Linked DNA regions of Homo sapiens: all the other regions are linked to region 3. Evidence: promoter capture Hi-C in human tissues and cell types (Jung and others, 2019). All regions are on one chromosome and are shown on one strand. Each heading gives the region's core, a stretch centred on a gene start or on the middle of the fragment in contact. The rest is flanking DNA. Distances are from core to core; before and after follow the strand shown. Region 1 holds the start of AIP (AHR interacting HSP90 co-chaperone). Region 2 holds the start of ACY3 (aminoacylase 3). Region 3 has its middle 12 kb from the start of GSTP1.

What was found. The method cuts DNA at HindIII sites, captures the fragments that hold promoters and counts their contacts. A contact is called where the count stands out against the background at its distance.
Region 1: a contact is called between the fragment with the promoter of AIP here and a fragment that was not itself captured in region 3, in 4 of the 25 tissues and cell types used here (lymphoblastoid cells, mesendoderm cells, ovary and 1 more).
Region 2: a contact is called between the fragment with the promoter of ACY3 here and a fragment that was not itself captured in region 3, in 2 of the 25 tissues and cell types used here (aorta and lymphoblastoid cells).

The regions. Positions count from the first base shown.
Region 1 is chr11:67,480,384-67,484,551 of GRCh38, reverse strand. AIP (AHR interacting HSP90 co-chaperone) reads right to left here and starts at 1,526. Exons shown (of 6, transcript NM_003977.4): 1 at 1,295-1,526. The coding sequence starts at 1,393. RefSeq lists an enhancer at 1,625-1,684. The HindIII fragment of the contact is 17,225 bases long and covers 1-2,024 here.
Region 2 is chr11:67,649,480-67,653,533 of GRCh38, reverse strand. It overlaps ACY3 (aminoacylase 3), which reads left to right and starts at 2,804. Exons shown (of 8, transcript NM_080658.2): 1 at 2,804-2,951. RefSeq lists enhancers at 2,523-2,582, 2,653-2,732. The HindIII fragment of the contact is 14,698 bases long and covers 1-4,054 here.
Region 3 is chr11:67,570,370-67,573,952 of GRCh38, reverse strand. No RefSeq gene overlaps it. Among named protein-coding and RNA genes, the nearest start is that of GSTP1, 12 kb to the left of the region's middle. The HindIII fragment of the contact is 7,251 bases long and covers 1-3,583 here.

The DNA.
Region 1 (4,168 bases), core at 277-2,776, 89 kb after region 3:
TTTAGAGATAACACTGGGGGTGGGTGCAGAGAAAAGAGGTTTGGAGATTGAACTCTCGACAGGATATGGTTAGAGGAGCCCACGCTCTTAACTGCCGCACCATGCTGCATCTCTGAAGTCAGTTTCCACATCGGTAAAACGGAATCAACAACAGTACCTATCTCACATTGTAGGAAATAAACGTGTGAAGCATGTAGCACAATGTTCGAATAGTGAGCACTCAATCAGTGCTGGCGATTGGTTATTTAACACCACCTGTTTCTGATCTTGGGGTGCCATTGTTCACATCTCTCCTTCTGATGTCTGTTCCATCCAGGATCCCCCTTGCCAGCCCCTTCTTCCAACGCCACCAACCCCCCAGCACATGGGGGCATGAACCCACACCACACATCCTGTCTCTTCTTAGAGAAGATATCTTTTCATACAGCGGATCACTCCAGCCATGCAGCTCCCCTCTGCTCTCAGGGCACTTATACTGCACTGGGCTAGGATGCTTAGCTGCCCGATTCGGCACGGTGCTGGCCAGGGGGCATGTGCTCATTTGCTCAATGTGCATGTCCTGCCTGACTGCTCTGCTGGGCACAGGGGCTGCCCCTGGGAGGTTCCCTACTCTGCAAACAAGTGGCAGCTGGGAAAAGCACTCCGGGAGGAGGCAACTACAGGAGAAGCAGGGAAGCCTGGAGTTGTAGGTTGGGGGAGAAGCGGGCAGAGGGGCTGGATCTGGGGGCCTGGCAAAAAGGAGAAAAGTGGGAGGTTCTTTACTTCCCAACCCTCATCTGTCCCAACAAGCCCCTAGTGCAGCAGGAAGGCTGCTAAAGAGTCCCTGTCTGGGAGACCTGACCTCTGGGCCCGTTCTCCGGCTTTGCACGTCCCAGGGTCTTGGTTTTCCACTCTAAACAGCGGCAGTTGGTCTAAGTGTTTTCAGAAGGCCCTTCCATCTACAAAGGATCATGAGCCTTGAAACCCAGATACCCGAGGACCACTCCCGGCCCTGGGTTTCCTCCAGCGTGGGGTCTGCCCAAGCACTGAGATCAACCCCCAACCCCAACCCGCTTGTGATGACTGACGGCCTCCCCCACCAATGCTGCTACAAGGCCGAGCCAGGGGGCGGGGCAGACAGGCCCGAATTCACCCCCTACTTAAATTCAGCCCAATCAGCGTCGAGTTCTGCATGTGAGCGGTAGGGGCAGTGGACGCTGCCCTCTGGGCATGCGCAACCTCTCGCCTAAGGCCTCCTCCCGCCTCGCATGCGCACCACGCCGCAGAGGGGGAGAAGGGTAGGGTAGACACGAACCTTGGTCCCATCTTGAAAGTCCGGGAGCTCTCCTCGGCCTTCCTGTATCACACGTTTTTGGATCCCGTCCTCCCGGAGTCTTGCGATGATATCCGCCATCCTCCTTCCCCGCTGCTCCCTTTCGGCAACTTCCGGACTCGCTCGGTAGCTTCCGGACTTGCTTCGGCAACTCCTAGCACCTCGGCAGCTTCCGAGCTAGCGCCATTTTGGTTGAGGGCAGAAGCCAAAAGGGACTGAGCGTGGAAACGGATGGTGATTGGTTCTCTGCGCTGGGGCTGAGCGCGCGCGTCTGCTCGGGGGCGGAGCCTAGGAATGTCTCGGGGCTGGACCCCAGCCTGTCAAGGAGGAAGGGCCGGGGTCCGCGGGCCGGGCGGGACGAGGACGTCCCTAACAATTGTCATTGAATTGATTGGGACTGCGGCCGTGTGGCACTTTGTTTGAAGTTGTGGATGGAATATAACAGCACTGCAGAGTTAGGAAAATGAAAAAAAAAAAAAACACCCGTAAGCCACACCCTCAAAGTGTTATGATTTTTGTGTATTTTCTTCCGGCTTTTTCTCTTTCGCATATCTAGTATGATTGTCGGGACTCTTGCATCCTGGATCTTCCTCTTTCAAAAAATAAAAAGAGGAAGAGGGAAAGAAAGGTGGAGAAGGAGACCAAGAGAGCCCATTGCGGGGTCGGAAATGAGTCATAGTTGTGCCCAATTAATATTAGGGAATAATCGATGAATGATAGAAATGAGGTACTTTAGCGCCGGGCGCGGTGGCCCTGTAACCCCACCACTTTGGGAGGCCGAGGCGAGAGGATCGCTTGAGCCCAGGAGTTCGAGGCTGCAGTGGGCCGTGTTCGTGCCACTGCACTCCAGGCTAGCCGACAGAGCGAGATGCTGTCTCAAAACAAAACAAAAAAAAAAAATTAAATTAAAAGAAAAGAGAAATGAGGTACTTTGGGGCTAAAACAACTTTTGTTTTTCTTTTTTTGAGACGGAGTCTCGCTCTGTCACCCACGCTGGAGTGCAGTGGCACAATTTCAGCTCACTGCAAGCTCTGCCTCCCGGGTTCACGCCATTCTCCTGCCTCAGCCTCCCGAGCAGCTGGGACTACAGGCGCCCGCCACCATGCCCGGCTAATTTTTTGTATTTTTAGTAGAGACAGGGTTTCACCGTGTTAGCCAGGATGGTCTCAATCTCCGGACCTCGTGATCCGCCCACCTCGGCCTCCCAAAGTGCTGGGATTACAGGCGTGAGCCACAGCGCCCAGCTGATATGAAACATTCTAAATAAAATACTAGGCTAATTGAATTCACTAATGTCATGTAAAAATGCATCAGTATGGGGCAGGTGTGGTGGCTTATGCCTCTAATACCAGCACTTTGGGAGGCCAAGGCAAGTGGATCTCCTGGATCTCCTTGAGCTCACAAGTTCAAGACCAGCCTGGACAACATGGCAAAATACCATCTTCACCAAAAATACAAAAAATTAGGTGGTGTGGTGGTGCACGCCTGTGGTCCCAGCTACTCAGCAGGCTGAGGCTGGAGGATTGCTTGAGCCCAGGAGATGGAGGTTGTAGTGAGCCAAGATCGCACCACTGCACTCCAGCCTGGGTGATAGAGTGAGACCCCATCTCAAAAAAAAAAAAAAAGCATCAATATGCTAAGTGAAATAACAGTACCAGTCACATACAGGAAAATACTGTATTATTCTACTTATGTAAGGTACCTAGAGTAGTCAGATTCACAAAGACAGAAAGCAGGGCCGGGCGCGGTGGCTCACACCTGTAATCCCAGCACTTTTGGAGGCCAAGGCAGGCAGATCACCTGAGGTCAGGAGTTTGAGACCAGCCTGGCCAACATGGAGAAACCCCATCTCTACGAAAAATACAAAAATTAGCTGGGTATGGTGGCACGTGCCTGTAATCCCAGCTACTCGGGAGGCTAAGGCAGGAGAATCGCTTGAACCCAGGAGGCAGAAGTTGCATTGAACCAAGATCGCGCCACTGCACTCCAGCCTGGGCGACAGAGCAAGACTCCATCTCAAAAAAAAAAAAAAATGACAGCAGAATGGTGATTGCCAAGGGCTGGGGGCAGGGGGGTGGGAAATGGAGACTTGTTCTTTGATGAGTGTAGAATTTCTGTTTTGAAAGACGAAACTGTTCTGGAAATTGGTTGCATAACAGTGTGCATATACTTAACGCCACTGAGTATACACTTCAAAACGGTTGAGATGGTAAATTTTATGTTATGTTATGTGTATTTTACCACAATTAAGAATAATTTTTTTGCCGGGCGTGGTGGCTCACGCCTGTAATCCCGGCTCTTTGGGAGGCTGAGGCAGGTGGATCACCTCAGGTCAGAAGTTCAAGACCAGCCTGGTCAACATGGTGAAACCCCGTCTCTACTAAATATACAAAAATTGGCCAGGCGTGGTGGCGGGCACCTATAATCCCAGCTACTCAGGAGGCTGAGGCAGGAGAATCGCTTGAACCCGGGAGGCAGAGGTTGCAGTGAGCCGAGATTGCACCATTGCACTCCAGCCTGGGCAACAAGAGCGAAACTTCATTCCAAAAAAAAAAAAGAATAATTTTTTTTTCCGGGCTGGCACGGTGGCTCACGCCTGTAATCCCAGCACTTTGGGAGGCCGAGGCGGGCAGATCACGAGGTCAAGAGATCAAGACCAGCCTGACCAACATGGTGAAACCCCGTCTCTACTAAAAATATAAAAATTAGCCAGGCGTGGTGGCAGGCGCCTGTAATCCCAGCTACTCAGGGAGACTGAGGCAGGAGAATCGCTTGAACCCAGGAGGTGGAGGTTACAGTGAGCCGAGATCACACCACTGCACTCCAGCCTGATGACAGATCGAGACTGTCTCAAAA
Region 2 (4,054 bases), core at 1,555-4,054, 79 kb before region 3:
ATAATATTAGGTTGGTTCAAAAGTAACCGCTGTTTTTGCCATTGAAAGTAATGGCAAAAACTGCAATTACTTTTGTACCAATCTAATTTTTTAAAAATTAATTAATTAAAAAAAATTGGAAGGCATAGATTTCACTCGGCAAGGCAGGAAATCTTGTAACTGCTCTATACTGTGGCTCTGCCGACCGCCCGGCACTGCTCCAGCAGATGCAAACTGCCCGAGATTTTGATGAATTCACTGAAGGAAATAAAGACATTGTGTTTAAAAACACAGCAGAAAGGTTGGGTGTGGTGGCTTATGCCTGTAATCTCAGCACTTTAGGAGGCTGAAGGGGGTGGATCACTTGAGCTCAGGAGTTTGAGACCAGACTGGACAACATAGCAAGACCCCATCTCAAAAAAAAAATTAGCTGGGTGCGTGCCTGTAGTTTCAGCTACTTGGGAGGCTGAGATGGGAGGACTGCTTGAACCTGGAAGTTGGAGGTTGCAGTGAGCCACAGTCGAGCCACTGCACTCCAGCCTGGGTGACAGAGCCGGACCTTGTCTCAAAATTAAAAAAAAAAAAAACCCACTGCAGAAGACCTTCAGAATTGCTTGCCTCTAGAAACCATGCTTTCCTCAGAACATCTAACCCTTCAAAAACTACAGCAGCAGCCAGAACCCACCATTCACGCTGACGCATTCCTTTGTGATAAAGACTTCATTGATTCATTATGTGACAAAGGGAAAATGAGCAGAAACTACTGGGTGGTTCACACCAAACAGAACCTTTAGACCGATTGCTCGTTCCTTCTCCCTCATGGAATTGAAGTTCATTTATCTTCATGCACTCCCTGATCAATCAGGAAAGGCTGTGGCTGACGTCAGCTCCAGGCTCAGCACAGTCTTTATGGGGTGATCTTATAGCTTAGCAGTGCAACCCTGTGGAGTAGAACTGAACGGAGACTTTTGCCAGTTGCAGGAAATGGTCATTAAAAAATACCAGTTTATTCACAGAATAAAGGTGCTTCATGCAGACATCTGTCCCCAGGGTTTCTTCTGCAAAATGCTGATGCTGCTATCATGAATAATGTCTTCAAATATTCTCTTAATGAGGCAGAACAAGCCGGAGCTGGGAATACATTTGTCATAATGTAAGGAAGCAGATCATCATCAGTGACAGTGCCAAGTCTTGAAGATTCTCTCCTGGGTCTTCAGACTAATACACATTTATCTCCCTGGGTTGAAGAAGTACTGTGGGACTATGATGTATACCCACAAAAGGATATTGACAAAGAAGCTCTTTATTTATTTATTTATTTATTTATTTATTTATTTATTTATTTATTTTCTTTTGAGACAAGGTCTCACTGTGTTGTCTAGCCTGGAATGCAGCCATACGATAACGGCTCACTGTACTCACGGTACGATTACCTCCAACTCCCCGTGCTCAAGTGATTCTCCCGCCTCAGCCTCCTGAGTAGCTGGGGCCACAGCTGTGTGTGCCACCACCTGGCTAATTTTTTTTTTTTTTTTTTTTTGAGACAGAGTTTCGCTCTTGTCGCCCAGGCTGTAGTGCAATGGCATGATCTCGGCTCACTGCAACCTCTGCCTCATGCCTCAGCCTCCCAAGTAGCTGGGATTACAGGCACCCACCACCATGCCTGGATAAATTTTGTATTTTTAGTACAGACGGGGTTTTGCCATGTTGCCCAGGCTGGTCTTACACTCCTGACATCAGGTGATCCACTCGCCTCAGCCTCCCAAAGTGCTGGGATTATAGGTGTGAGCCACCGCGCCCACCCTAATTTTTTTTTTTTTTTTGGTAGAGACAGGGTCTCCCTATGTTGCCCAGGCTGGTCTTGAACACCTAGGCTCAAGCAATCTGCCCCCCTTGGCCTCCCAAAGTGTTGGGGTTACAGGTGTGAGCCACTGCACCCAGCTGACAAAGAAGCTCTTGAACAAATTCATTTAATGAGATTCTCTAGCACTAAAATAGTCCTACCTCATTGTAATGTTTTGTAGAGTATCTTATAAAACAATGAAAAAAAACCAGTATTTTAATACATATTTTTCTGTATATTTCCTTCTAGCCTTTGTACATATGATCACATATTTGTAAAAAGTTGTATGTATATATATACAACTTTACCCGCTTTGTGTGATGATATGACAAAAACATTTATCTGAAAAAAGTATTTTTTTCATCAAATGGCAGAGCTCCTGTTTCTGGTAACCCGGGGTATGGCAAGTAGGGGCTCTGGGAGATGGAGCAGCTCAGCCTCCTGTGAAAAATTCTGTTTCTCTAAAAAAGAACAAATTCTCATGCTGGGCGCGGTGGCTCACGCCTGTAATCTCAGCACTTTGGGAGGCCGAGGCGGGCGGATCACGAGGTCAAGAGATCGAGACCATCCTGGCTAACACGGTGAAACCCCGTCTCTACTAAAAATGCAAAAAATTAGCCGGGCGTGGTGGCGGGCGCCTGTGGTCCCAGCTACTCAGGAAGCTGAGGCAGGAGAATGGCGTGAACCCGGGAGGTGGAGCTTGCAGTGAGCCGAGATCGCGCCACTGCACCCCAGCTTGGGTGACAGAGCCAGACTCTGTCTCAAAAAAAAAAAAACGAATTCCCAAAACTAGTCCCACTGTTGTCTACCCAGATCCGGGATCCGGGTTGCCCTTGGCCTGGCCAGAGATGCCTCTCAATCCCCCACGGCACGTAGAGCCAGACAGAAACCGAAAGCAGAGGTGCCCTGCGCTGAAGTCTAGAGATCCCACTGCTAGGTCCAAAGAATTTACCCTTTCAGTCAACCCACGGGGCAAAGTCCACTTTCTTCCCTGAAGGAGCAGCACAGAACAAAAGCTCCAGGCAGCTGCTTCCGCTGTTTCGGGGGTAGGGCGGAGTGACAGCCCCACGGGCCACGCAGCAAGCAGAAGATCCCCGGGAGTCACCCTCAACCCTCTGGGGCCACGTGGGTGAGTTCGCCCGGGGAAGGTGCCGCGGCCCACTGCTTTACCTTAGTGAGCCTCAAGAAGTTAGGATCAGAATCCCAGTCGGCCCCATCTGGGTCGCCAGAGTTTTGTTACCCACACAACGGGTGGGCTCAGTTGCTTGGCGGGTGTTAACTAAAGAGGATTTAATAGGGGATTTTATTTCTTGCAACAAGTAAGGAGAACACCTAGACAGCTCCCAAAGCAGTGTCTCCCCGAGCTGAGGGCTGGGGCAGGTTTTATAAGCATAGGGTAATGAGGCGTGATCTGATTGCATCTTGCAATGAGGTGATGCTGGGAGGCATGATCTAATTGGATGCTGACACAGGGGGGAACCACAGCTCTGACCCCTCTCTGGGTCTCAGTTTCCCCAACTGCAGTGAGGAAATTGGCCCCCGTGATGATGCCCATGACATCACCATCCTCTGCCCTCACTCATGCTGGGGTCTCCATGTGCCCATTTTCAAGCTTGTGCCCGCCCTTTGTTCCTCACTCCCCACAGCTGCCCTTGGCCAGGACTTTCACAGGGTGGAGCCAAGGCCCAGAGAGGGCACTGAATCTCTCCAGGTCACACAGCCTGTCAGGGAGGTGGGGCCAGAGCCAGGTCACACGTGTGCACACAACACACACACACGCACACATGCTCACGCACATGCACGCACACACGCTCTCAAGCACATGCACACATGCACACACATGCACACACACTCTCATGCACACACGCACACATGTACACACACATGCATGCACACATGCACACAATACTCTCATGCACATGCACACACGTACACACGCACACATGCATGCTGTCACACATGCGCACACACGCACACATGCTCTCATGCACACACGCACACATGTACACATACATGCACACATGCACACAATACTCATGCACATGCACACACATGTACACACGCACGCACACACGCATGCTGTCACGTACACATGTGAGTGCACACACGCACACACATGCTCTCATGCACACGCACACATGTACAGATGCACACATGCATGCACACACATGCACACACGCGCACACACTGCCAGGACTGGGGGCTGCTGTTTCTGAGGGTTCCTGGACCCCG
Region 3 (3,583 bases), core at 513-3,012:
TCAAAATTGTAGGAAAACAATAAAATCTCAAAAACAATGGTCAGGGCTGGAATCTAATAACAGATGTGCCACAGTTTGCTTTTTAAAGATTGATTCTCTCTCACTCTCCAGTTCTGCATTTCTATCAAAAGAAATCTTAGTAGGGCTGATTTTGTTGCCAAATAAGTTTTAGTATTATACTTGGCCTGATTATTTGTAAAAAGTGCAATGAGAATAGTGAATGGCCATACAGGCTCTTTTAAATTGGCTTTGCTGGAGCTTTTTCATGAAGAATCTCAGGTTGGACTTTTGAAAGCCTCCCCAGGCTTTGAAGCCAACCCATGGATTCATGATCAGCCTGTGCCTGTAGTACCTGTATGAATTGGGTGAATTCCTCTCTTCTCAAGGTCCCAAATATCTTGAGGTTCCTGGGCTTGTCAGAAAGTGACATTCTTTCCTTACCACAATGTAGGGTCCAGCCCTACAGGGCCTATGGGTTTTTCTCTTCGTGTGCGGAGACGAGAGATTGTAGAAATAAAGACACAAGACAAGGAGATAGAAGAAAAGACAGCTGGGCCTGGGGGACCACTACCACCAAGACGCGAAGGCCCAAATGCCTGGCCGCGCTGATAATTATTGTATACAAGGCAAGAGGGCAGGGTAAGGAGCGTGAGTCATCTCCAATGTAAAGTCCAATGTAAGGGTAAGGTCACGCGAGTCATGTGTCCACCGAACGGGGCCATTCCCTGTTTGGTAGCCGAGGCGGAGAGAGAGAGGGGACAGCTTACGTCATTATTTCTTCTATGCATTTCTCGGAAAGATCAAAGACTTTAATACTTTCACTAATTCTGCTACTGCTATCTAGAAGGCGGGGCCAGGTGCACAGAGCGGAACATGAAAGTGGACCAGGATCGTGACCACTGAAGCACAGCATCACAGGGAGACATTTAGGCCTCCGGATGGCTGCGGGCAGGCCTGGCTGATGGCAGGCCTTCCACAGGAGGTGGTGAAGCAGAGTGTTCTCTAACTCCCTGGGGGAAAGGGAGACTCCCTTTCCCAGTCTGCTAAGTAACAGGTGCCTTCCCAGGCACTGGCGTTACTGCTAGACCAAGGAGCCCTCTAGTGGCCCTTGTGCGGGCTTGACAGAGGGCTCACATTCTTGCCTTCTGGTCACTTCTCACCGTGTCCCTTCAGCTCCTAATTCTGTATGGCCTGGTTTTCCTTAGGTAATAAGTATAGAACAGGTAATAATTATAGAACAGAGATTAATATAATAAAGAGTAATGCTACAAACTAATGATTGATAATATTCATATATAATCATGTCTATATTCTATTTCTAGTATAACTATTCTTATTCTAATTATTTTCTTTATTATGCTGGAAGAGCTCATGCCTTCCGTCTCTTGCCTCGGCACGTGGGTGGCTTGCCGCCCACACCACAAGGTCAGGAAGCTTGTAAGGGAACCATAAAAACCAGGTACCAGACCAATCTCTCCAAGGGACTTTTTACTGGCTCTATAAAATCAGCCTCAACTCCTCAAAACAGTCTGGCTGTATCTGAAAATATGCCAGTACAGTCAAAGCCTTGGTAAAATTACGAGTGTCTTCAGTGTGCCCAGTTACAAAAGAAAACATAGTCTTACTGAACTTATGCAAATAACTGTATTGCAATAAAATAAGAATCGTCACAAATAGTGTCCAAATTTTGGAGAAATCAGGTAGAGAGAAAGGTAAATATTTCAATTTTGCTCACAAAAGTATACTTTGCCCAATGGCTGTGAGTTATAAATAGCTCAAAAGAAAAAGTTTTCTTGTTTCTAGAAAACAAAATATAAAAAGAATCAGCAACGTTTCAAACAAACAAAAGTCATAAAAATCATTTTAGTCCCCTATCGGTTCTGTCCTACGTAATTAATTCTCGTTCTGCTTGATGTTGTGTTCACAATCTTCATGAATGCATCAGTTCTTTATTAGGGTTCTGGAAGTTTTTACTTAGTTCAGTGGTATGATCTCTAAAGTTACCAGAGCAGGGTGCGGTAGCTCGTGACTGTGGTCCCAGTGTTACCAGATGGAAAGTCTTGACTGTGAGTTGTCCAGGTTCTTGGCGTGTTGAACAAAGAACTGAACAAAATGCACAAAGCAACAGAAGATGAAAGCATAGATGTATTAAAGCAAAAGTACGCTCCACAGAGTGGGAGCAGGCTCAAGCAGCCCCAATTACAATATGCTTCAGGGTTTTTATTAAGCCAAAAGAATTTGGTAACACCATAGGTGCCCTGCAGAGGCTTCCAATTGGTTACACCCTGTAAGCGATTGGCCCGTGACCAATCAGAGGCTGAAGTGCAGACCCTGCCTGTGGTCAATCGGAGGCAGAAGTGGAGACTCCTGTCTTGTTATCACAGGAGTGAGGACGTGGCCTGCGTGCTGCCTAATCTTGCCTAGAACTGGCTGCCCCTGCTGTTTTTTGCTTATGCCTTAACCCTTTGTTACCCTAATTCCCTGTTCTCCTATCTTACCAGCACTTTGGAAGGACAAGGCAAAAGGATCACCTGAGGTCAGGAGTTTGAGACCAGCCTGAGTGACACAGAAAGACTGTACAAAAAATTTAAAAATTAGCCAAGCGTGATGGTGCATGCCTGTAGTCCCAGCTACTCGGGAGGCTAGGGTAGGAGGATTGCTGGAGCCCAGGAGGTTGAGGCTGCAGTGAGACATGTTCACACCACTGCAGTCCAGCCTGGGTGACAGAGTGAGACCCTGTCTCAAAAAACATACACAAGCAAACAAATATTTAATTAATAAATAAATTTACTGGAAACCTATACTCAAGAGTACTTTTCAGCATCGTTTTCTGTGAATTTCCTTAAGAAGCAAATTTTGGACTGTAGCTGATTATAAACTAATTTTTGAGAATCAAAGTAAAACAATAATTGTCTGTGGATGACAAAAAACTTAGACTAGCCATGGTTAAAGATGCAACTGACAAGGAAACTTGGTTATTTCTGTGACATACAAAAATTTAACAACATTATCACTGAAAACATATACCGAGACATGTCATTTTAAGAATCTCATACAATTTTGGAACACATATTAATAACACATTTATAGAAATATAACTCAAAGAAAGTTAAACACCAGCTGGGCGTGGTGGCTTATGCCTGTAATCCCAGCACTTTGGGAGGCCAAGGCGAGTGGATCACGAGGTCTGGTGTTCGAGACCAGCCTGATTAACATGGCAAAACCCCATCTCTACTAAAAATACAAAAATTAGCTGGGTGTGATGGGGTGCGCCTGTAATCCAGCTACTCAGAAGGCTGAGGCAGGAGAATTGCTTGAACCTGGGAGGTGGAGGTTGCAGTGAGCCGAGATTGTGCCACTGCACTCCAGTCTGGGCGACAGAACGAGACTCCATCTCAAAAAAAAGAAAGTTAAACACCATTTCTTATTTGACAATGCTCCGTATATGATTTTAACATACCAAATAAGCCCAGTATTTCTCTCTTGGACTTCCAAGGGCTCCTATTTCTTGTGTCCAAGATAGTTCAGATAAAAAAAGACTTAATTAACTTTGGGAAATATGTCAAAAATTTTTCTAAATTTG